6 separate regions of the Homo sapiens genome follow, and all the other regions are linked to region 1. Evidence: promoter capture Hi-C in 16 types of primary human blood cells and fetal thymus (Javierre and others, 2016). All regions are on one chromosome and are shown on one strand. Each heading gives the region's core, a stretch centred on a gene start or on the middle of the fragment in contact. The rest is flanking DNA. Distances are from core to core; before and after follow the strand shown. Region 1 holds the start of DHX9 (DExH-box helicase 9). Region 2 holds the start of TOR1AIP2 (torsin 1A interacting protein 2). Region 3 overlaps TOR1AIP1 (torsin 1A interacting protein 1). Region 4 holds the start of CEP350 (centrosomal protein 350). Region 5 overlaps IVNS1ABP (influenza virus NS1A binding protein). Region 6 holds the start of ACBD6 (acyl-CoA binding domain containing 6).

What was found. The method cuts DNA at HindIII sites, captures the fragments that hold promoters and counts their contacts. A CHiCAGO score of 5 or more calls a contact.
Region 2: the fragment with the promoter of TOR1AIP2 here is called in contact with the fragment with the promoter of DHX9 in region 1 in 1 of 17 cell types (total CD8 T cells); the score reaches 6.3 in total CD8 T cells.
Region 3: a fragment that was not itself captured here is called in contact with the fragment with the promoter of DHX9 in region 1 in 1 of 17 cell types (fetal thymus); the score reaches 5.1 in fetal thymus.
Region 4: a contact is called between the fragment with the promoter of CEP350 here and the fragment with the promoter of DHX9 in region 1, in 6 of 17 cell types (naive CD8 T cells, total CD4 T cells, fetal thymus and 3 more). The highest score is 14.5, in naive CD8 T cells.
Region 5: a contact is called between a fragment that was not itself captured here and the fragment with the promoter of DHX9 in region 1, in 1 of 17 cell types (fetal thymus). The highest score is 5.6, in fetal thymus.
Region 6: a contact is called between the fragment with the promoter of ACBD6 here and the fragment with the promoter of DHX9 in region 1, in 3 of 17 cell types (naive CD8 T cells, total CD8 T cells and naive CD4 T cells). The highest score is 7.1, in naive CD8 T cells.

Annotation. Positions count from the first base shown.
Region 1 is chr1:182,837,303-182,841,441 of GRCh38, reverse strand. DHX9 (DExH-box helicase 9) reads right to left here and starts at 2,095. Exons shown (of 28, transcript NM_001357.5): 1 at 1,986-2,095. DHX9-AS1 (DHX9 antisense RNA 1) reads left to right here and starts at 1,851. Exons shown (of 2, transcript NR_148933.1): 1 at 1,851-2,130; 2 at 3,508-4,139. RefSeq lists a silencer at 1,776-2,205 and an enhancer at 1,629-2,470. The HindIII fragment of the contact is 6,331 bases long and covers 1-4,139 here.
Region 2 is chr1:179,875,457-179,879,595 of GRCh38, reverse strand. TOR1AIP2 (torsin 1A interacting protein 2) reads left to right here and starts at 1,793. Exons shown (of 7, transcript NM_001199260.2): 1 at 1,793-1,903; 2 at 2,223-2,357. RefSeq lists an enhancer at 1,459-1,818. The HindIII fragment of the contact is 9,006 bases long and covers 1-4,139 here.
Region 3 is chr1:179,893,543-179,897,681 of GRCh38, reverse strand. All of the region lies in intron 3 of TOR1AIP1 (torsin 1A interacting protein 1), which reads right to left. Among named protein-coding and RNA genes, the nearest start is that of TOR1AIP1, 13 kb to the right of the region's middle. The HindIII fragment of the contact is 755 bases long and covers 1,654-2,408 here.
Region 4 is chr1:179,952,593-179,956,731 of GRCh38, reverse strand. It overlaps CEP350 (centrosomal protein 350), which reads right to left and starts at 1,922. Exons shown (of 38, transcript NM_014810.5): 1 at 1,590-1,922. RefSeq lists a silencer at 1,488-1,937 and an enhancer at 1,725-2,226. The HindIII fragment of the contact is 10,111 bases long and covers 1-3,544 here.
Region 5 is chr1:185,305,008-185,309,146 of GRCh38, reverse strand. It overlaps IVNS1ABP (influenza virus NS1A binding protein), which reads left to right. Exons shown (of 15, transcript NM_006469.5): 4 at 1-144; 5 at 272-347; 6 at 1,485-1,658; 7 at 2,008-2,133; 8 at 3,504-3,611. Among named protein-coding and RNA genes, the nearest start is that of IVNS1ABP, 10 kb to the left of the region's middle. The HindIII fragment of the contact is 836 bases long and covers 1,646-2,481 here.
Region 6 is chr1:180,500,508-180,504,646 of GRCh38, reverse strand. It overlaps ACBD6 (acyl-CoA binding domain containing 6), which reads left to right and starts at 2,070. Exons shown (of 8, transcript NM_032360.4): 1 at 2,070-2,602. The coding sequence starts at 2,381. RefSeq lists a silencer at 2,003-2,102 and enhancers at 2,313-2,502, 2,024-2,524, 2,632-3,147, 3,148-3,663. The HindIII fragment of the contact is 1,534 bases long and covers 1,173-2,706 here.

The DNA.
Region 1 (4,139 bases), core at 846-3,345:
GTGAATGAGTAATATGAAATACGAAGGACTATACTATCAAACTCCTGTCTCCCTAGTCTCTTACAACCCCATAATGTTCAATACCAACTACATGCTATCGATGCCCAAATACATATATTTAAACTTTAGTCTTTTCTCTCTTTTTTTTTTTGAGACGGAGTCTCGTTCTGTCGCTCAGGCTGGAGTGCAGGGGCGAGATCTTGGCTCACTGCAACCTCCGCCTCCCAGGTTCAAGCGATTCTCCTGCCTCAGCCTCCCGAGTAGCTGGGACAACAGGCGCCCGCCACCACGCCCAGCTAATTTTTTGTATTTTTAGTAGACACGGGGTTTCACCGTGTTGGCCAGGATGGTCTTGATCTCCTGACCTCTTGATCGGCCCGCCTCAACCTCCCGAAGTGCTGGATTACAGGCGTCAGCCACCGCGCCCGCCCGTCGTTTCTCTTTAAAGTCCAAAATTAAGTTCATCCAACTGTGGCACTAACTCACCCATTTGCATGCTAACTTGGCATCTCAGTCAAAACAGAATTTTAAATTTCCCCTCAAATCTGTTCCAACACCCTACCCCTACATTTCGGTTTCCATAAACGGTACGACATCCACCAAGTTACTCCTGGCACAAGTTGAGAGTCGTCCACTCCCTTAAGATTCTCCATAGCTATCCCTTGTAGAACCCTTAATGTGTGTCAAACAATATCCATAATAGATCATCTAAATGGAACTATTTTACTTAATCCTTAGTAACCTTGTACAGGTAAGATCACTATCCCTTTAGAGAAGGGGAAACTGAGACAAAGAATATCTTGCTTCAGGAAGACAGAGCTCCTAATTATAAGAGCAAGAATTCGGGCGGGCGCGGAGGCTCACGCCTGTAATCCCAGCACTTTGGTAGGCCAAGGCAGGCGGATCACGAGGTCGAGAGATCGAGACCATCCTGGCCAACATGATGAAACCCCGTCTCTACTAAAAATACAAAAATTAGCTGGGCGTGGTGGCGCGCGCCTGTAGTCCCAGCTACTCCGGAGGCTGAGGCAGGAGAATCACTTGAACCCGGGAGACCGACGTTGCTGTGAGCCGCCATCGCGCCACTGCACTCCAGTCTGGCGACAGAGCGAGACTCTTGCAAAAAAAAAAAAAAAAAAAAAGGCGCAAGAATTCCAGAAAACGTAGCCTGACTCCAGATCTACTACCTTCCACCACTACGCATTTCTGCTTCAAAATACGTCCCCTATCCATTCGTTTCTCCCCATCTCTCCTGCCACCACTACTGCACACCCGGGCTAGTGAAATATTGTCCTACACGGTTTTTGTTTCCACTCTTGCCACCCTAAAACCCATTCTCCTTTGAAGGCCTTCTCGCCACACTCCAGTCACATGGCCTGCTTTCAGCTCCCGCCCAGTTTCTGCCCTTAAGCGATAACTAATCCCTTCCGCTTCTGCAGGCTCTGCTTTTCCTTCGCGTTGGCCGAGGTTATCAGCTCAAAGCCTCCCTCCTTCGAGACGCCTTACCTCGCTATACTAGCCAAAGGCGCTCTCCCTTTACATTCTTCAATTTTTTTTCCTCTACCCACAAGGCCTGCACGACGGCGCCAGTTATTCGTGGCTTGAATGAATGAAGAGCCCTAGGCCAGTGGCGCCCCGGCGGCAACCACCACAGGCGAAGCACCCCCTTCCCTCAGCCGCCGCGGTGCCCCGGCGTACGCAGGCCAGAGGAGGAAGCGCGCTTTGCCTGCTAGAGGCAGCAGCGGGAAACGCTGGGCGGAGGAGAGGGGAGGGGGCCACAGGCTGCCCGGACGGCGCAAGCGCATCGCGGCGAGGCGCGCACGCAACCCGCAATCCGGGGACCCGCGGGCGGCTCGTCCCTTCCCCCACCCCCAGCCGCCGCCGCCGCCCGCGCTTCGCAACAAAGCCGGCTGCGGAGCCATGGTCCACGGCGCCCGCCCGCGACCCCGCCGCCCCGCATGGTAGCCGGAACGTCTCTCCCTTACCAGCCTTCGCTTCCTGGTGCCCAGCTCTTAGGACCGTGTGTGACTCTGGCCTTCTACCGAGACAACAGAGAAACGCACAGCAACTCGCATGGAGGAATCGGCGAAATGGCTCCGACCGCGGCGCTAGGGGGCGGGGCCAGCGAGCGTACGCATGCGCAGAGCGCGTGCCAGGGCGGGGGATGGCGAGGGCGCGCCAATGGAGGGGGCGGGGCTCAGCAACCTCGCGGCGCGGAAGGGTTTCGTTGCTAGGGAGATGGGCTGAGCCGGGCGGGCATCGCGCCAGACCTGCTACTCTGGATAATCCACTCTCCTGGATAATCCACTACCCTGGATAATCGGCTGCCCGCTTTTGCGCATGTTAGGGAGTTGACGGCCTGTAGCATTCTGATGCAGCAAAATATTTCGCAGGGTCTGTCATAGGGATCTCCGGTGAGAGGAGGTTCCCTTCGAAGGCAGAACTGGAAACCTTGCTGCTAACTTGGTAGGGTTGTTGAGATAATTACATGAGATGGCATATGAAGGGCGGCTTAGTTCAATACCTGGCATGTAGTAGGTGTTCAGTGGGCGTAGTTACCGGATTGATTCAGATAGTCTGAACGCCAGTGTCTCTTGAAAGAAATAAACTGGCCGGGCGTGGTGACTGTAATCCCAGCACTTTGGGAGGCCGAGGTGGGCGAATCACTTGGGGTCAGGAGTTTGAGACCAGCCTGGCCAGCGTGGTGAAACCCCGTTTCTACTAAAAAAAAAAAAAAAAATACAAAAATTAGCCGGGCATGGGGGCGGGCGCCTGCAATCCCAGCTGCTTGGGTGGCTGGGCGGGCTCCTGCAATCCCAGCTACTCGGGAGGCTGAGGCAGGAGAATCGCTTGAACCCCGGGGTCGGGGGCGGAGGCGGAGGTTGCAGTGGGCCGAGATCACGCCATTTTCTGGGCGAGAGAGCGAGACTCCGTCTCAAAAAAAAAAAAAAAAACCATGAAAGAAATAAGCTCAGTGAAGGCGGGCATTCTGCCTGGCTAACGCAGGTCGCTCCTTGCCGTGCCTGGAACATTACTGTAAGTGCTCAGCAAACTACTTTAAGGTAGGAATAAAATCTGCAAGGTTGCTTTTGTTTAAATTGGATAACCTTTTGTGTTCCAAGTCTTTGGAGTAATTTTGTGTTCCAAGTCTTTGGAATAATTGTGTCCTTAATTATTATACTAGTCACTGTTAAATTTTGAAACTCCAGTGCGTCCCATGAAGGTAATGATACAAAACATTTCCAGCTGGGATTGTTCCAGGGAATCCAGACTAATCAATTATCTGGGCTCATTATATCTATGGATCTTTATTTTTCACCTCTTTCCTTATGTTTTTCTTAATCCTTCTAGCTGATAGTGATCACTCCCTTTAAAACTGTCATTCTTAAAATCAGAACAACATAGTTTATCATTTACTTATTATTTTCTTCATGTGATTGTTCTCCTTAATTAAGAATAAAATCATTGAAGGAAAGACCTTAATTTTTTTTTTTTTGTACCCTTCAGGGTGTTGAAAGCAGCAGGGGCCTAGAAGACATTAAACCGATACCACAGAAATACAAAGGATCATTAGAGACTATTATGAACAACTATATGCCAACAAATTGGAAACCAAATGGAAATGGATAAATTCCTGAACAGATACAACTTACCAAAATTGGACCAAGAAGAAATAGAAAACCTGAAAAGACCAACTATGAGTAATGAGATTAAATCAGTAATATAGAGTCTCCCATCAAAGAAAAGTCCAGGCCCTGATGGCTTCACTGCTGAATTCTACTGAACAGTTAAAGAAGAACTCATACCAGTTCTCAAACTCATCCTGTGAGGGCAGCATTACCCTGATACCAAAACTAGATATGGACACAAGAAAAAAAATCTATAGGCCAGTATCCCTGATGAACATAGATGCAAGAATCCTCAACAAGACCAGGTGTGGTGGTTCATGCCTGTAATCCCAGCACTTTGGGAGGCCAAGGCAGGTGGATCACCTGAGGTCAGGAATTTGAGACCAGCCTGGCCAACATGGCAAAACCCTGTCTGTACTAAAAATACAAAAATTAGCCGGGCAAGGTGGCGTGTGCCTGTAATCCTAGCTACTTGGGAGGCTGAGGCAGGAGAATTGCTTGAACCTGGAG
Region 2 (4,139 bases), core at 544-3,043, 3.0 Mb after region 1:
TTATTGGGAACGACAGAAACACGAAAAATTACAATTCAGATTAAATGGCATTAATTCACACACTTAACTATTAGGGCTAGGTCTGGAAATCCTGTGCTCTTGAGACTGGGTTCCTAAATCAGTTATTTTATTTCATTTTTAATTAATTTATTTATTTAGAGACGGAGTCTCGCTCTTTCGCCTAGGCTGGAGTGCAGTGGTGCAATCTCGGCTTACTGCAGCCTCCCCCAACTCCAGGTTCAAGTGATCCTCCTGCCTCAGCCTCCCGAGTAGCTGGGATTACAGGTGCCTGCCACCATGCCCAGCTAATTTTTGTATTTTTAGTAGACATGGATTTTGCCATGTTGGCAAGGCTGGTCTTGAACTCCTGACCTCAGGTGATCCATCCGCCTTGGCCTTCCAAAGTGCTGGGATTACAGGTGTGAGCCACCACGCCTGGCCAAAATAATTATTTTAAATGAAACATTTTAGAACAATAAATTTTTTGTACAGGAACTTTTTGCTTTAGGGTAAGCAGAAGTTCATTTATTTAAAGAGATAAATCTATCCGTTGTGACTTAGTAGTACAAATGAAGTAGGCAAACAATTTTAATAAGGAAAAGATGATTAAAATATTAAACAGGAGGAAGTTAATTAAAGACATAGTAGCTGGCTCCATTTATTCCCCAGTCTTACAAATGATAGAAAAATATTTTAATGACAATACAAATGAAAATTCCTGGAAATGTTATACTGAAATTAATTAAACACAATAAAGTGAATGGAATATAGTATTCTTTTTGTTGAATTAGGACTTGCAGTTAATTATTAAACACCATCCAAGAGTGTTACCAAATCCTGTCACTTCTGCCAAGAGAGGGTGATTGAGAAGTGAAGGCACCAAAAATCACATTAAATGAGGAATTATTAATTCAATAAATACTTGAGCTACTGTGTAGTAGGCAGTCCCTGTTCTCTGTGCTGGGGATACAGCAGTGAACAAAATAGACTAAAAGACAAAAAATGTTTCCTGCCTTCTTGGAGATTATATTCTATGGGAGGAGTCGGGCAAAAATCAAAATAAGTAAAATAGTGTGTTGGTCAGGACTGTTATGGGAAAAAAAAGAGGAAAGGGGAAGGGAGTTTTACATGAATAGATTTCTTCTTGAAATTTGGTTAGATTTGTCCTGAATTGCTGTAGGTCAAGAACAGGAATTTTAGACTTACTTCATTTTTCCCCCAACAAATTGTATGTTCTTGGGTAAATTGCTCGCCATCTCTTAATTTTCACATTTATAAAATTAGTAGATCAAAACAGCTATTTTTTGTCACTACTGTCATTTAACAGAAATGCTGCATACGTCATCTAATCTACTAATAACAAACTTATGAGGTAAGTAACGTTGTCCCCATTTGACACACGAGCAAACTGAGGTTTAGATTAGGCAACTCATTGGATTACATGCTCCTCTTAATGGCACAGAGGGTGTGTTCCAGGACATGGTGCTTGCCATTATCATTTGGTACTGCTGCTCACTGTGTTGGTCCTATGAGTTTCTTCAGTCTATGAATTTCAGGTCAGGGTGGTCGACGTCTTACAGAGATGCCTGTAATCCTGTCAGCATGAGATTGCATGGGACCTCTGCGGTTTGGTCGCGCATTTACCGCGCCTGTCGCTGGGTCAGACGACCTGGCAGTAGAGGGTGAAGGATGGAGAAGGCAGAAGGCAGGGCACGGAGACTACTAGTCCCAGGATTCCACGGGCGCCTTCCGGCGGAAAGTGTTTGTCATATGGGCGGGGACCCTGGACGACATTCGGGCCGCGGCGGCCGCTGGGTGCAGCCGAGCGGTGTGGAGCGGAGAGAATACTCGAAGGGCTCTCCTGATACTAACAGTTTTACGATTTAAAACTTCGCCAGAATTTGTAAGTAAACAAAATGACTATGCAGCTTTTCCATGTTTTAGTATTGAAACTGATATCTTGAATTTTTGAAAAGGACTTTCAGAAACGGTCCCTCCCCACCCCCACCTTCGTACCGCACAAATGGTATTTTTATTTTTATTGTTTTTGAGACAGGTACTTGCCCTGTCACCGAGGCTAGAGTACAGTGGCGTGATCATAGCTCACCACAGCCTCATACTTCTGGGCTCAAGGGATCCTCCCGCCTCAGCCTCCCAAGTAGCTGGAACTACAGGCCCGCACCACCATGCCCTACTAATTACTTTATTTTTTATTTTTATAGCGACAGGGTCTCACTGTATTGCCCAGGTTGGTCTCGAACTCCTGGCTTCAAGCGATTCTCCCACCTCAGCCTCCCAAAGTGCTGGGATTACAGGCGTGAGCCACCACGCCTGGCCTCACTCAAACAGTAAACGAGGTAGGTTGGGGGTATATTTTTGTTTTGGGATAAAAAGAAACTGAATCTTATAAATATTAAATGGGTTAAGATGTGAGTAAATTTTTGGGTTTAGACTTTAAGGTGAGAAGCCGAATTATTTTAGGGTTCGAAATGTGAGTGGGAAATTTGCCTACTAGTGTAGGCGGCGATTACTCCATTCCCAACATGCCTAGGTTCTCGACATTCATAATCTTAATCCTGAAAAGATAATACTTAAAAAAAAAAAAAATTGGTGCTAAAAAGGGCAAAGTTGAAGTTTTAGTAAGACCTCCTACCATTTTGCTTACATATTATATATGTACCATTCTCCCAATTGTATTTAATACCTGATGAAAAAGTTTGTGCCTTTTCCTTCTTTTAACAAATTTCATAGTACTCTCTACTTTATGAGTAATGCTTAATTATCAGACTTTATACTGTTACACAGATCCAGAAATGAGTTACATAGATTAAACATACTGGCTTTGTTTTACCTGTCTTTAGGTTTTAACACATTTTATTTTGGATCTGTATGAGAGATCCTTTCTTTGTTTTAAGCTGTGGCAGTTATCCATGTTTTTTGAGCTTTTTTTTTTGAGCACAAGATGAGGATATAAAAGGCCAGTGGAAACATTTAATAAAAAAAGGAACTTCATGGTAGAGTAACTACAGATGTTTTTGGAAGACTTTGTGTGGATTAGAATAGTTTGAAAAACTAACATTTGTTATGAAAACTGAGTGCCTGTCTTCAGTAATGTTTATTATGCTGAACGTGCAGTCCACAACTTGATTACCTGTTTTTCTGCTGGTTTGTTACGCAACCTTGCGTGACTCATTTAAGAACTATTTTATCTAGTTTCTTTCCTAATGTAGAGGTAATGCTAGCTTGAGAGCTTCAATAATTTATAAATAAATTAACTTCAGAATGTAGCTAATTATTTGAGGATTATTGGGTGTTTTAATAATGTATTGTATCTTGTATATAACTTATTTTTGCCTAAGAAGTAATTTCTGTATTCCATTCATTTCCATGGAACACAGAAGTCAAAATTCTATTCCAGGAAAGTCCACACTTCTTTGAAGTGCCACTTGAATTTCCTGAAGGAATGTTTGCTTCAAAAAGCCTTGTCTGCTTTATCACTTTGAGGTTGTTCACTAAGTCAACTGTGAAGGCCCATAAACTTGGAGATTCGACAACTTCCAAAAAAATTTAAAGAATGAAGAATTGGCTGTTTTATTTACCATTTAGAATTTTGATTGTGTTAAAATTTCATTAATATTTCTACATCATATGAACTACTGGATTAAACTGTGTCCTACAAGAAGGAATTCATAGGGCGATCATATATTACCATAAATTTTGCACAGAAATCAAGCACTTGGGAATAAGGAAGCGTGTCCCTAACATTGGTAATGAGCATAGACTGGAGTCATAGCTGGGTTTGAATTCCTATTTTGTTACTGTGTGGGCTGTTTTCCTCTTTACTAATATTTAAAGGAGCTGGCACATGATTTTTTTTTTTTTGGTGCCATGGCTCTGGTATGAACTGTGCACATAATTTTGGTAATCGAAATTTCTGGGAAGAAAATTCACCTATAACTCCACTACCTCAACAAATCAAATTGTTTGATTTTTAGAGATTTTCCTTCAGCCCTTGACCATGAGTATCTATCATGTAAATGTAATGACATTTTTGGAAAAAGTCAAATTTTGAAACATTGGTGTCTTCTGGGGTTTTAATTATATAAATGAAGCTGTCTGGTTTTGCCTTTAATAGTTCA
Region 3 (4,139 bases), core at 782-3,281, 2.9 Mb after region 1:
ATGTTTTACATAGTTACTCTAAAAATTATATGGTAGACAAAACCTCTTTAACTAGGGCTGAATAGATTTTAGAATCTATAATAATGGAAAGGATATGTTGGAGATTTACATTCATTTGTTGAGCTATCAGAATAGTACAGTACAGTACACAGTACAGTAGTATGACTAATACAGTAATCCCTTTTTTCGATAGGTATGTTTTATCTGTATACATTTGAAGATATGTTTTATTTCTGTACACATTTGAAGTTCCAGGTCAATTTGTCTAGAGCCAATTCATTTAACAGTCATTTCTCCATATACCAAGTTGCCTAAAATTCAATCTTTTTTCTGCTTATCTATGTGTTATCTAATTAGCATGGAGAGATGGTTTAATAATTATTTTTTAGCCAGCTTACATAAGGGAGCTCCCCATTTGATTTTAATACTTCTAACATGTTATTATATTTGAAGTATCTAATAAATCATGGATTCTATCCATTTTTCAACACTTTTCAGACTTCTGGATTTAATCTAGTGACTAAAGATCCTTTTTTAGAATTCTATGTTCCTAACAATAAATATTTATCAATAGTATTCAAAACAAGAATAACTAGTTATGCAATGCTATCTTGATCCCATCACTAAAAACAAAAAAAGTACTATTTTGTGTTTTATAATCCAATAATATCTATGAATTAGATCTTAAATAATAATAATCCCCGTAGATTTGACAATCAATCATTATTGAATCAGGTTATCTACTGTCTTGGCTACAGATACATTTTAAAACAAGGTTTTCATTCTGGTAAACAAAGCTCAAGAAACCCAAGCCTGCTATGATTTCGAATGTCATTCTAAACATTATTTAACGTCTCAGATAAAGAATTATGGCTAGTGTGAGAGTATTGTCTGTAATATAAAAGACTTTAATTTCTCATATTGCATGCTCTCTAAAGGTAAAATGTCTATTATAAAGCAAACTGTAGTATTTGCAAGTCTCCGTCCTCATTCTGCCTGCTATTCATCCCTCAAAATTCAATCCAAATGTCATTTCCAACTCATAAAACCGCCTCAACCTCTTCCACTGAGTAGGGTGCTTCTCGTCTAGGATCCCGCAGACATATGTCACTATTTCAGCACTTAAAAAAAAAAAAGATTTGTAAACTTGTTTTTCTCTTCCATTACATCACGTACATCTAAGAGGTAGGAAAAAAAAAAAACCTGAATGGCTATTTATGATCCTAGCACTTAGGTCGGTCACTGACATAAAGAAGGTGTTTAAAAATGTTTGGCTGGGCATGGTGGCTCATGCCTTGTAATCCCAGCACTTTGAGGCGGAGGTTGCAGTGAGCCGAGATCACGCTCCTGCACTCCAGCCTGGGTGACAGAGTGAGACCCTGTCTCAAAAAAAATAAAAATAAAAAAAGTTTGTTCCATGAATAAAATAGATTTTATGATTATAGAATAAAGATGTTAAGTCCAGATTTTTGCTAATATTTCTCATACTATGATTAACGTTACTTAGCAACTTAAAAAGTCTGAAATTAGTGCTTAATAATTAGATACCTGCAAGGTTTTAAACATTCCACCTTTTTACCCAAGCTGCAAAGAATGGAAATAAATATTTAAGTGCGATCTGATGATGAATCAGTAGCCATGACTACATAAGCTTTAATTTCATTTCCCTCTTTTGTTTTTCACCTACCTCTATTTTAAACTTGGCTGCTACATGTCGAAAGTTAAAGCATTAGATTTTGTTTTTTGTTTTTGTTTTTTTTTTTGAGACAGAGTCTCACTCTGTCACCCAGGCTGGAGTGCAGTGGTGCAATGTCGGCTCACTGCAACCTCTGCCTCCCGGGTTCAAGTGATTCTCCCGGGTTCAAGTGATTCTCCTGCCTCAGTTTCCCGAGTAGCTGGGACTACAGGCTTGTGCCACCATGCCCGGCTAATTTTTGTATTTTTAGTAGAGACGGGGTTTCGCCATGTTGGCCAGGCTGGTCTTGAACTCCTGATCTCAGGTGATCCACCTGCTTCGGCCTCCCGAAGTGCTGGGATTACAGGTGTGAGACACCGTGCCCGGCCTCTTTTTTCTGAGACAAGGTCTCTTTTTGTCGCCTAGGCTGGAGTGCAGTGGCACAATCTCTGCTCACTGAAACCTCTGTGTCTTGGGTTCAAGTGATCCTCCAGACTCAGCCTCCCAAGTAACTGGGAATATAGGCACGTGCCACCACACCCAGCTAACAGTTGCATTTTTTTGTAGAGACGAGGTTTCGCCACATTGCCCAGGCTAAATTCCTGGGTTCAAGCGATCCACCTGCCTTGGCCTCCCAAACAGCTAGGATTACAAGCATGAGCCACCATGCCTGGCCTTAAAAAAATACTTTTTTAAAAAAGGTATTACTCTTCCCAATGTTCATACAGAAGCTTTGAGAATTAAAATCATATTTTGAGCAAAAAATCCTTAATATTAAAACATTATTAAAGAAATCATAAAGGCTGTGGCTTTAGCAAATATATAGACAAATGGTAATAATTAAACATGCTGTTTAAGAAGGTGTTATATTTTCCAGTAACCTCAACCAATTAGGAAAAGCTACTTTCAGAAGTCCGAGGTCTTTATGTTTAAGATAGATCACTTAACAGTCATCGCCTCTAGTGAAAACCAAGCATTAATTGTGCCACTTTGTTTACTTTCTTTTACTTGGCCAGTTTTTAAGGAATTCAAACCTTAGGTATAACCCGGCCTTTTACAACTTATAAAATTCCCTAGTTATTTTGAAAGCCCAGGTGCCAAAGCATCTACATTTCTCCTGTAGATTTTGCTATTCCTAGAAATTTGTGGGAGGTACTTGGTGTGAGGAGCAAAGGCCACTCAAGAAAACATAAACTTGGCTTACTTTGTGTTTTGTCTGGGGACAAAGACATGAAAATATAAATAAGACTACTGTGCTTTCTCAAAGGAATACTGGATAGAACACAGGAGTCATTGCTTCCTTCCTTTCTTTTTTTTTTTGAGATGGAGTCTTGCTCTTGTTGCCGACAGTGGAGTGCGATGGCACGATCTCGGCTCACTACAACCTCCACCTCCCAGGTTCAAGCGATTCTCCTGCCTGCCTCCCAAGTGGCTGGGATTACAGGTGCCTGCCACCACAATTGGCTAATTTTTTGTAATTTTAGTAGAGATAGGGTTTCACCATGTTGGCCAGGCTAGTCTTGAACTCCTGACCTCAGGTGATCCGTCCACCTCAGCCTCCCAAAGTGCTGGGATTACAGGCATGAGCCACCAGGCCCAGCTTGTTTCCTTTCTTCTTGTGCTCTGGGTACAACCTAGTATGGAGTGTTGTAATAAATATATGTTCGAGCAAGTATATAACTCCTGAATTTACTCTGACAACAAACAAATGACCATTTGCGTGATTTGTCGTCTTTATTCTTTTTTTTTTTTTTTTGAGACAGAGTCTCGCTCTGTCGCCCAGGCTGGAGTGCGGTGGCGGGATCTCGGCTCACTGCAAGCTCTGCCTTCCGGGTTCACGCCATTCTCCTGCCTCAGCCTCCCAAGTAGCTGGGACTACAGGTGCCCGCCACTGCGCCCAGCTACTTTTTTGTATTTTTAGTAGAGATGGGGTTTCACCATGGTCTCAATCTCCTGACCTCGTGATCCGCCCGCCTCTGCCTCCCAAAGTGCTGGGATTACAGGTGTGAGCCACCGTGCCCGGCCTTGTTGTCTTTATTCTTGCCATCAGTATAAATCAGGGGTCAGCAAACTTTTTTTATAAAGGACTAAATAGTAGATATTTTAAGCTTTGTGAGTCACATAAGGTCTCTGTTACATGCTTTGTCTTTTTCAGCAGTGTAAAAATTCCTTCTTAGTTCATGGGCTGATTAAAAAGATTGTAGGCCAATTTCACCCAGAAGCGGTAGCTTGCTAACCCCTGGTACAGATAGTTTTAAGACTATCTGCTGGGCATGGTGGCTCATGCCTGTAAATCCCAGCACTTTGGGAGGCCAAGGAAGGTGGATCATTTGAGGTCAGGAGTTCAGGACCAACCTGGCAAACATGGTGAAATGCTGCCTCTGCTAAAAATACAAAAATTAGCCAGGCATGGTGTCATGTGCCTGTAATCCCAGCTACTTGGGAGGCTGAGGCAGGAGAATCG
Region 4 (4,139 bases), core at 673-3,172, 2.9 Mb after region 1:
AAGCACACCAAAAACTGATGTCAGTTATTTTAGACTTCTTTTTTGCTCCCACTATAAATTATAGCAATTTAACAAATAAAATTGATTATAGCAGTACTTCATCTCCTTTCTTCTGCTCATATATGGTAGAAGTGTTATAAAATGGGCAAAAGACTGACAATCAGAAGCAGAAGGAAAAAATCCAAAAACTTTATAATTCATAAATTGATTGCCCCACAGAAGGTTGGCTGTTTAAGTATTAACGCTCTTACATGACACACACACCAATTTATCTCAGAAAATCAAAGAAATATGTTCACATACGTATGAAATTTTTTACATATACAACTTGCCATCTCTACATACACAAAATTTTGCTACTGAGGATGAAGAGATACAGAGATACACATGTATTTATCCACATATACAATGTATTCTAGCTTGAAGTTTATTTTCAGATTACAGTATCTTAAATTTAATGCACTGACAGTTCAAATGATTCAGATTTATTTCATTACATTAAATAAAATTTGTCAATTTAGCACACCGAAACTAATTATTATACGCCCATGGCTTTGAAGCAACTTCCAGCATGGGTCTAACAATCCCTCAAAGTCACAATTCCATGTCATTAGCAGTGCATTTCCTTGTTTAAAAACAATATATTAAACGAAGAAATTTTCAGAATGGAGGGCAACTTTTAGTATTTTATCATTGTTTCTACAGAACTTTTCAGATTGTTACTAGCTCTGCCAAAGATAGTCTTTCTTTTAAAACTCTTCAAATACAGGGCAGGAGGTATCGTTAACATGGCAACAATAACGACTTCCCCAAATTCAAAACAAGGATCACCATCAAAACAAAACAATCAGGTGGAGTACATGGATATTGATCACTATTTCTGACAACCTGTTTTTTCCCATATGAAGGATTTGCTACTGCATTAAAACATTAAAATCTATGCCTATGTGCAACTTTCTATCTGAATATTTAAAATCCAGGCAAATTCCAATTCATATCTTGTGACATTAGCTAAATATTACTTAGCATGTTGAGCTGCATTTAAAAGGCAGAGGAAAATACTGACAACTTCCAAAACATAAAGCCTTTTAAATCTTTCCCCAAATTATCTGTGAATAAACTACCTTCAGCAGCCGCTAGACTAGAGTAGATCAAAGTTTTCCCTATACTTGAGAATGTGATCCCCACTGAAAAGGAACAGAAACTGATCATCCCTGCCACTGGAGCCAGTCCCCGGAATCTCCCCAAATACGCCTGATCGCCAGATGAAGAAGGGACACTTCTCCGGGCAGCAAAGGCTAGAGGTATCTTACCTCTGCAGGCTAGAGGAGGGGTGGAGGAGGCGGGAGGACACTGGCACGTAAGGAAGGAAATTCCGTCTTCAGCAGGCACTGGTGGGACCCGAAACCTAGGTCCCCGAAAAGCCTCAGAACCCAGGGAGGTTCCCCGAGGGGGACGCCAAGCAGGGCCAAGACTCTCCGCGCCCGGCCCCGCCTCTCTTGCCGCCACCGGGGACCCGGGACCGCGGACAGAGACAGTTGAGGCTGAGCGAGACTCCGCGGTCCCAGCCAGGTCCTACAGGAGCTCACCTGAGAGTGTCGCCTCCGCCCTCGGCTACCACGGTGCATCCCGCGGAGCCTGGCGGAGGGTGCAGTGACGCCGCCCCGACCGGCCCCAGGGCTGCCCGGCCTGGCCTCCCCGCTCCGGGGACGCACCGGGTGCCCTCCTCGCACCGGCTCCGGGGATCCGCCGGTCCGCTGGGAAGGAAGACAAGGCGGAAAGGCTGCCTCCCCTCCCTCAGGGCAAGCCACCCCCCGAGCTGCGGCTCCCTGCAGTTCTCTCTGGCGCAGGTCTGGCCCCGCTCCCCGGCCCGGGAGTCACTTCGTCAGGGGCGGCCCAGTCGCCATTACAGCCCAACAACTGACACGGAGGAGGAGCGGCGCCAGCGGCAGCGGCTGTGGCGGCGGCGCGAGGCAGGGCGGGAGCAGTCGGGCCCAGGCAAACCTCGCGAGAACTGTCCCGAGACAGTGCCACAGGCATGCCAACCTTCGGTTAGGGCCATGTTGAGTGTGGCCGAAAGGTGGGAGCGAAATAAAACAAGGAGCAGAACCGCGAAGAAGCCATGTTTGGTGCGTCGAAGTTTAAACTCGTAGGACTTGGGAGGAGCCAAGGTATATCCGCAGAAGAGACCACCCCTGCCCTTTCGCTTTGACGCTCATTGGGCCTTTTGGCTGCGCATTTCACCCCGGGCTGAGAAAACAAGCTGGGGATTCGACAAGAATGAACTCAAAGTCTGGAAACGGCAGCTTCTGAGAGTTTACAATGTTTCACCAACTGTCGTCCAAATAAGTCGTCACCCCTGTCAGAGTAGTTGCAGCTCTGCCGTTACCCACTGCTGTCACTGTGGCCGTTTTATTCGCGAGGGTTACAGTTCTGTTTAGCATGCATCTAATGACTTAAGACTCCACGCAAGTAAAACGGAGTTTCCTCCCATTAAGTATTGGCTTTGCTTTAACAGTGCTTTGAGAGGCTCTCTGTGGCCAACATATCTTCTCATATCTTTGTCCTCGTTTCCCAATCTCCGCGTGGTGAAATCATCTATCAAGACTTGGCTTAAAGGACCTCTCTTCTGCAAATAATGCCATCTTCCGCTAGGTGCTCACTGCACACAGACTCGCCGCCCACCACTTCTGTCCACCTTCTGAACTCCGATAGTTATTTACCCAGAGACTGTTTCTCATCTTTAAGTGTCGTGAAGACTTTAAGATCTGTTTTATCTCTCTATACCCCAAAATGGCCTAGCACAGTAACTAGGACATTGTAGGTGCTCAATAAATGTTTGTCGAATATCAATGACAGCAGGAGGCAGTAAATGGTCCCTCTTTGTAGGGCCTACAGCTGTGCCTGAGTAGGATGTACAGAAGTCCTGCATACGTGTGAAGTGTCTCCAGGAAGCTGCACTGGAGGGGACAGGAAATGTGGGTAATCGTATGGTGCAAGTGGTAGCAAAAAAGACAACATAAGGAAAATGTTATTTAGGTTTTGCCCAGTCTTGCTGTTTAAAGCCCTGTGTTAGATGCTTTTCATGCGCTATTTTACTGAATGTAAACAACCACCTTATTAAATATACTCACTTTTTTAAAACGAAGAAACACGTACTGGCCGGTCACAGTGGCTCACGCCTGTAATCTCAGCACTTTGCGGGGCCGAGGCGGGTGGATCACGAGGTCAGGAGTACAAGACCAGCCTGGCCAAGATGGTGAAACCCCGTCTCTACTAAAAATACAAAAATTAGCCGGGCGTGGTGGCGGGTGCCTGTAATCCCAGCTACTCGGGAGGCGGAGGCAGGAGTATCGCTTGAACCTGCGAGGCGGAGGTTGCAGTGAGCCGGGATCGCACCACTGCACTCCAGCCTGGGCAACAGAGTGAGACTCCATCTCAAAAAAATAAAAAAAAAGAAAGAAAGAAAGAAAAAGAAACAAGTACTGAAAAAGCTAAGTAATTTGCCCAATTTTATACCATCAATAAAAGGGAGCTGTAAGCTTTGGGATCTGCTTTGCCCCAAAGCCTGTTTATACTTTTTCAGCCCCATGCTATCCCCTTGACAACAGAGAAGACACCAAAGTTCTGTCACTGTGCTCAGAGCAGGGTTACCCTGGTATCAGCCTATGCACAATTTCTACTTCTTATACCTTGTGTTGGTCTGTCTTCTCCTCGCCTCCTAAATTCCCCAAGCACATCAATGTCTTTCTTTTCTAATATCCCGTTACTCTTGTGTTTACCCTACAGATTGGCCCTGAATCTATCAAGTTTTGTACTAGTTGCATATAGTTTCATGAGAGTAATTAATCTCTGGAACAAGATTGGAGGTTTACTGTGGAAAGGTTTGTGGCCCTTCCCAGACGTCTCCGCAGTGTTAGGCCGGTAATAGGTATTCAATATGGCTCCCTTGTTTCTCCTACTTTTTAGTAGACACTAAGATTGCATTTTTCTTTATATTCTTTGTTGATTACTGTGGCCTTGACTCTCACCACTCTTTGGATAACTGGATCTTGGCCCTAGACTAAATCTCCAATTACCCGTTACCCATCTTCACATAGATACAGAAGTCACCAGCACCTTCAGCTCCCATATTAAGG
Region 5 (4,139 bases), core at 814-3,313, 2.5 Mb before region 1:
CAGAGCAGTGCTAGCTTGCTGCAGTCCCTATTTATTTGAAATCTTTAATAGTGATAGTGATCCTCATGGAATTTCTCACGTTAAATTTGATGATCTCAATCCAGAAGCTGTTGAAGTCTTGTTGAATTATGCCTACACTGCTCAGTAAGTACATTTGAAGTAAACCATATAATTAGGGAATATCTTCAGAAAATTCCAAGTCTTGCTACATATATTTAAATTAAGTGTGTTTTAAGGCTTTGGTATCATAAGTAACTTTTTTTTTAAATAGGTTGAAAGCAGATAAGGAATTGGTAAAAGATGTTTATTCTGCAGCAAAAAAGCTGAAGATGGATCGAGTAAAGCAGGTAGAGTATCAGAAGTAAATAAAATCATTTATGGAGTCTTATTTTGTGTGATTGCAATGCTGAATTTGTCATAAAACATCTTGTTAGTTTCAAGGACTTGAACATGTCCCTTTTTTCCCTCAGAGTAGTCAATATGTTATTTTAACTGTTTGGCTATAATAATGTAGCAAGATCACACTTCTTCTCAGATAATTTGGGCTGAAGTCTGACCCTTTCAGCAATCTTCTCTGGTAGGGTGGCTATGTCAGCCTTTGATAGCATGAATTAAAATTAATATTTTTCTTAAGAGTTAATCACATAACTTATATCCTCAATTCTGTGTTCTCCTAAACTTCCTGTGCTCTCTAAAAGTATTCCTTCTAGAATTTAATGCCAGTAAAAAGTACTTTTGGAAAACAGGCATTTAATCCCCTAATGCATGGGGGTCAGTAAACTTAAGGCCTACTGGCCAGCTGCCTATTTTTATAAAGTTTTATTCAAACACAGCCATGTGTGTTCATTTACATATGGTCTACACTGCTTTCCAGCTACAGTGACGGAATTGAGCAGTTGTGACAAACAGAATGGCCTACAAGCCTAAAATGCTTTTACTATCTGGCCCTTTAAGAAAAAGTTTGATTTGCTAGCCCTTCTTCTAATACCACTCCTTTGTTCAAAAATCCTTCCTTAATTTACAGTACATATCCCTGCATTTAGTTTCTAGATTTTCCCTTATATAGTTGCTGTCTTTCCAAAACTATTTCCTAGTTATCTTTTCTCCAACCAAATTAAATTGTTTGCAGCATCTTCTCTACTTCTGTCTGCATTCAACATCAACATCATCTCTCCTGTAGAGCCCAGTTCAGATACTGCGTTTCATGAAGCCTTACCAAATTATTCTACTTGAAAATACTTATGTGAACTTACATAGCATTTCAATTTGTTGTACCTCTCCTTAAACTAAAACTTACATATCTGTATGGCATAATTAGATGTTTATCATTTGTATACGTGTTATTACCACTATTAACATTTGTTGTATTAAGACAGTGATTTTTGATTCTTTGTATCTTCACATAGTCTTTACCACACTGAACATTAAATATTTGTTGAATAAAAGATATGTAAGTGTTGGCACTCATATATTTCTTTTCCAAGGTTTGTGGTGATTATTTACTGTCTAGAATGGATGTTACCAGCTGCATCTCTTACCGAAATTTTGCAAGTTGTATGGGAGACTCCCGTTTGTTGAATAAGGTTGATGCTTATATTCAGGAGCATTTGTTACAAATTTCTGAAGAGGAGGAGTTTCTTAAGCTTCCAAGGCTAAAGGTAAGGAGTAAAGTCTATAAACAGATATATACTATCTAGTTCCAGGCGTGGAATCTTGGTCTGTGTTTCAAGCAAGTGAGTAATGATTATGAAATAATACATTGAAATTATATTGTTATTCTTAGCAGCGTAATGGGTTTCTCCCTACCAGTTTGTTTACTTTGTTTTTGATTCAGTAATCAAATTCCTTACAAATTCCTGGTTCCTTACAAATTCCTGGTTCCTTACAAATTAGAGTAAATGTATGGAATGAATTGTGCATCTGTGACAACTTTATTATGAAATTGGGAATTAAGCTGAGAACTAGGAGCCCAACACTGATCCATGTCATTGTTTTTCCCAATTCTAGTTGGAGGTAATGCTTGAAGATAATGTTTGCTTGCCCAGCAATGGCAAATTATATACAAAGGTAATCAACTGGGTGCAGCGTAGCATCTGGGAGAATGGAGACAGTCTGGAAGAGCTGATGGAAGAGGTTAGTTTTAAAGTAAATGGGATTCAACCATTTTTAAAAATTATTTTGCTATAACATGAAGGATTCCCTTTCACTTTTATTTTATAACCATGACCCTAAAGAATTTAAATTTTGCTATAGGTACCCCTAAGCTGAGAAACAGGGGGGGTGTCCAGGTGAGCTGAATGAACTGTTCAGTTTGGTCTTCTGCTTTTCTTTTTTTATTTCTTTGCTTATTATGTGCTGTTAACTTTCTTTAAAGTAGCATGTAATTTGCTTTAGAAATGGGAAGTGGTACTGAAATTTTCTGTAGATTCTTAATTTTTCTTCACAGGTTTTTGCTTTAAATTTGACAAGTAGGTAAAAGCTTCTAATGGTTGTTCCTCCCCATTGATTTATCTCCCCATAGGTTTATTAACAAAACTAGGATACCCAAGACTGAAGAAACAAGAAGAAACCTCAAGTGTATTGACACGTAAAGAAGCAGCAGTCCTGCCCCAGTTCTCCTAAGAAAAATCCGCTGTGGGCAGAGAACGATGATGATTTAATGGTGTTTACTCCTTTACAGGATTCTTGTCTTTAAAGCTGTGTGTTTTTCAATGGTGTTGTTCATACATATAGTCACTCACTTAACTTGGGCTACTTTTAAAAAAAATACACAAGATAAAATTGATGGAGAAATGGTGGGAATTGAAAACACGCAGGTGGAGCAGTGGAGTAACCTTGAGTTTCTCTCTCCACTTAAACCTTTCGGAGTTCCTTTATGAGGGCTTACCAAATCTGTTAGGCCTGCAGAAACACTGTCATCATTATGGTCTAAAAGGGCTAACAGATTATCTTTAAATTCTATGATTCCCACTTGAAAGTCAGATGCATTTGCCATGTATTTGCATCTGTCTCAATGGAGATGACTCTACAGCTTGCTTGAATTTTTGCATTTGTTTTTTCTTTGTTTTTCTTGACATTGCTTACAGGAAGGAAATATGTTTATGCAAACCAGACCACTTATCTGCAAAGGTGTAAACTATATTCAGTATTTTATTGTAAATATGTATATTCTTTAAGAGTATATATTGTACTAGTGCTTTTTTTCTTACTGTTATATGATAGAAGCTATGAAAAAAATGAAGATTTCTTTCAAGCCAATCAAGCCAACGACTCTTCAGCCAGTATTGGAAGATTTTGTATTTGATTTTGGTTTTTTGTTTTTGTTTTTTAATTTTTACCACCATGACATGTATTTTTCTTTACCTCCGGATCCTGCCAGAGTAATATGTCAAGAAGCTCAAGAAGCACACTGGAGGTTACCTTGAGGCGTTTGTGTAATCTGCATACTAGTGGAGTAGCCATGGTGACCGTAGCCACATGGGTGTTCTGTTGCTGTTTTGCAGGTTCAAACCTTGTACTACTCAGCTGATCACAAGCTGCTTGATGGGAACCTACTAGATGGACAGGCTGAGGTGTTTGGCAGTGATGATGACCACATTCAGTTTGTGCAGGTACACATTGCACAGTCTGAGGTAACCTCAGGTTAAAATTTGACTAGAGAATTTGATAGCATACTTAAATTTTCCTTTAATAAAGGAAAGTGGACCAATTTCATTGGTATAACTGGACAGAAACATTTTTGGGAGAAAACAAGCATATCTTAGAGTTAGTATTTTTGCCACATGAAAAGATATTAACAAATTAGGAAACCCTATTGAAATTTTTTTCTCATAAAGCAGGAATTACAAACAGTAAAGGCCAATAAGATGGAACAATATAGAAATTATTTGGGAAGATTATGAAAAGCAGTTGTTTGTGTCAGGCATGACTGATAGTTTTTTTTAAAAAGGGGCAGGGGGACTTAAATTGTTGATGGCTATGAAAGAAATTTTTGGATGTTACCTTAACTACTGAGCTGTCTTACTGGAAATTAGAAATGGTATAGTTAAGATGGACTATACAATGTAATAAGTCTAAAAGTGGTGGATCATATGTTAAAACCTGATCTAGATGTTTCTTTAACCAAGATGAATTAAAAT
Region 6 (4,139 bases), core at 821-3,320, 2.3 Mb after region 1:
ACTCAACATTATGTTTGAGATTCATTCATGTTATTCTGTGTCATTGTAATTAGTTCATTCTCACTGATGAATAGTATTCCATCATGTAAGCACACCAGTTTATCTCCATTCTAGTGTTGATGGACATTCAGGAGCTTCCAGTTTGGAGCAATTAGGAATTAGTTCATAGTGCTGCTATGAATGTTCTCGTACATGTTTTTGGTGAATGCCATGTATATATTCCCGCTGGGGAGGAGTCGAATTGTTGTATATTTATGTTCAGCTTTAGTAGATAGTGCCAAACATTTTTCCACAGTGATTGTACCAATTTATGCTCACACCAGCAGTGTAAAAGAATTCTGGTTGCTCTCTTTCCCATGTTATGTAAACTCTTCCAGAATACAGAAAAAGATGAAAACTTCTAAATGCATTCTACAAGGATTCTATTACCTTGATACAAAATTGAGAAAGTATAGAAAAGGAAAACTATAGGTTAATGACATCTTTAAATGGAACTGTAAAGATAATGAAAATATTAGCAAACTGAACCTACAAATTTTTTAAAAAAACCAAACCAGGACCAGAATGGGTTTATTCCAAGAACAGAAGTAATGCTCAAAACTAGGAGGTTTTGAAATAATGCATACTAATTTATCAATGTTAGCTATTATATAATTCATTAAATCCCAAATTTATTTTTGTTAATATAATTCATTAAAATAGAAACTGTTAATATAATTCCTTTCGAAGACTAGAGGAGAAAAGCAGATAATCTCCAAAGATGCCAAAAAAGCCGTTGATAATATTCAATTCTCACTTTAATAAAAATTCTAGAAACAAAGATATAAAAGTCCATGTTATATCTCCTTCAGTCTACTTGTCGGGTTCATCATCCATTATTACCCCACATGAAAGCTAACTTCTTTTTCCTTGCTCCTCCATTTGCTAGCTGTGTAGCCTTTGACAAGTTACTTAACCACTCTGTGCTGATTTCCTATGTGTAGTAAAATAAGAGTACCTACCTTATGTTGTAATGATCAAGTCCTCAATACATTATTCTTAATCACTTTTTAATTGCAAGAATTTGGTCATTAAACATCCCTTTGACTGGATTGCGAGCACCTTGACAGCAGGGACTAACAGTGGAACTTTCTGGAGACTTAAGGAATGTCTGTTGAATCCTGATGCAAGCTTTCTCACCTTCCTGTGTTCTCTCATTGCTTCCTCATCCTGTCCAGCCGTCCGTCCACCCGTCGCAAGCCTAACCCCAGTCAATAACCACTGTTTACAACACTTTCTTTGTACCCTTCTTATAGTGCTTATTACATTGTTTTGAATACTAAATGAATATATAGTGCGTCGTTGTGTTTAACATTTAGGACATAACCACTCATAATGTTACAGTTAAAAAAATAGTTTTGTGCATTCCTCTAGGGCCGAACTGTGCCGTACTTCTGGTTTCACTGTACAGTGTCTACAAAGCACAGTGTCAAAGACAGAGCTCGGGATGAGAACTGGGCTAAGGCGCGCCCCGAACTCCCCAAACCCTATTATTCAGGGCCCGGAGAGGTGCGGGCTCCGAAGGTGTGGAGAGCGAAACACGCAGAGCAGTGATTCCACTCATCAGTCACACAGTAAGACGGGACAGCCCCATCTCGCAGTTTTTCATTATTCAACACAGAGCCCAACGCGCACGCAACAGATCCGCGCGCAGGGCTGTTTGGAGGCGCTTGGGGCGCACAATCTGGGGCAGGCGGAACCTTAGTCCTCAGCCTCGCGTTTCCCGCGACTCCGCTCTCACCGCTACACTACCACACAAACGGCCTCCTTCCCCCACCCCCGGGGGCCCATCCCGGTGGCGGGCTCCGGAGCTCGGGACTGCTAATTTCAGCGAAACGATTAAAAGACGCCCCTACAGCTGACGGCACTTTCTCTCCTCCGGCAGGGAAGGACGTCCAGCGTAGCGTCGCCCGCGCTTCCCCGCCGGCGCAGAGCAGGCCTCACAGAATCGCACGCCGCTGGCACGCACGCCGCCCCGCCCCCACGGCCCAGCGCCAGCCGCGCCCCGCGCTCGCACGCATCCCGGCCTCACTGCCCCTCGACTCCTGTTCCGTTGGAGGGGCCTGAGGCGAGCCTGAGCGCGCTGTTGGCCGGAGGGAAGCCGGAGGAGACCGGGTCGACTGGGCAGAGCGGCAGAGGGTCGAGGAGCCTGCTCTGCACGCCCAGGGAGTAGAAGTGGGCAGGGAGCAGGGTCACGTGAGGGAGCGCGCCGCGACTGAGCTTGGGTCCGACTGGAGCTCAGGCTCGCGACCCAGACTGGTGGGCCAGGCCTCCAAGCCGGCCTTACACCCAATCCAAGGAGGACAGACCGGACACAGAGGGACGGAGCGAGCAAGGAGACATGGCTTCATCATTCCTGCCCGCGGGGGCCATCACCGGCGACAGCGGTGGAGAGCTGAGCTCAGGGGACGACTCCGGGGAGGTGGAGTTCCCCCATAGCCCTGAGATCGAGGAGACCAGTTGCCTGGCCGAGCTGTTTGAGAAGGCTGCCGCGCACCTGCAAGGCCTGATTCAGGTGGCCAGCAGGGAGCAGCTCTTGTACCTGTATGCCAGGTACAAACAGGTAAAGTAGCAGGGAGAGGGTGGATGGGGGAGAAAGACACGGAGCCTTCTTCCTCAACAACTGATAGCAAGCATGTATGGTTAATAGCTAGGTGTAATGAAGCTTGTGTATGTGTATTTTGTTTTGTTTTTTTTTTTTTGACCATCTGCTGGGGATGAGCATCATCCTGAACGTGGAAAAGATGTTTGCTTTCTTAGGAGTGATGTTTATTTAGCTGGACACTGGACATTGTTTTTGTGTTTTTTTCTCTGACTTATTCAGTGATCTTGCATTTTACCAGCCCAAGAACCTTTACAAAATGAGGATAAAATAAGATATATCATTCATTTACTCTTTCCCAGAGGGCCACATGGAAGTAAATACGGTAAAGTTAATAAAACTATATAGAGATCCAAAAAGATAATAGGATTGTAATAATGTGATGCAGGGCTGGGCGTGGTTGCTCACGGCTGTAATCCCAGCACTTTGGGAGGCCGAGGCGGGAGGATCACCTGAGGTCGGGAGTTGGAGACCAGCCTGACCAACATGGAGAAACCCCGTCTCTACTAAGTTAGCCGAGCGTGGTGGCGCATGCCTGTAATCCCAGCTACTCGGGAGGCTGAGGAGGCGGAGGTTGCGGTGAGCGAAGATTGTGCGCCATTGCACTCCAGCCTGGGCAACAAGAGCGAAGAAACTCCACCTCAAATAATAATAATAATAATAATGTGATGCAATGCAAAATGCAGTATTACAACTTTTATTGTGATTTTTATAAAATCCTAAATATCTTTGATTTATGTTTTCGTTGAGTATGTCTTCCTTTCTGTTTGATACAATCTAAAAATTTTAGAGCTATGAACACCAGAGGAAATAATGCCCTTCTTTTACAGTAAAGGAAACTGAAGGCCATAGAGAGTAGGCACCTTTCCTAGGGTCATACAAATACATCAGTCAGAACTGGATTGTAGCTCCTGACTCAGTCTAAGGCTGTGAACTTTACCTGGAAATAGGGAGGTGTATAGACACGTTTAATTTATAATTCAGGGTGACATTGGTTGGTACCAGAAGGAAAATAATTGCTTTATCATAAGCAACATATATTTGTTCAGCAGCTTTTATGTGCAAGACACTTGGGTATAATGCCTACAGAGAATGCAGAGAAGCAAAAACATCATGACACTTTGCAGAGAAGCAAAAACATCATGACACTCACTTTTTTTTTTTTTTTTTTTTTTTACAGAGGGTCTGGGTTTCACCACATTTCCCAGGCTGGTCTTGAACTCCTGAGCTCAGACGATCCACCTGCCCAAAGTGCTGGGATTACAGGCATGAGCCACTGCACCTGGCTGACACTTTTTTTTTTTTTTTTTTGAGATGGAGTTTTGCTCCTGTTGCCCAGGCTGGAGTGCAGTGGCTGGATCTTAGCTCACTGCAACCTCTACCTCCCCGGTTCAAGCGATTGTCCTGTCCCAGCCTCCCGAGTAGCTGGGATTACAGGTGCCTGCCGCCATGCCCAACTAATTTCTTGTATTTTTAGAAGAGACGGGGTTTCATCATG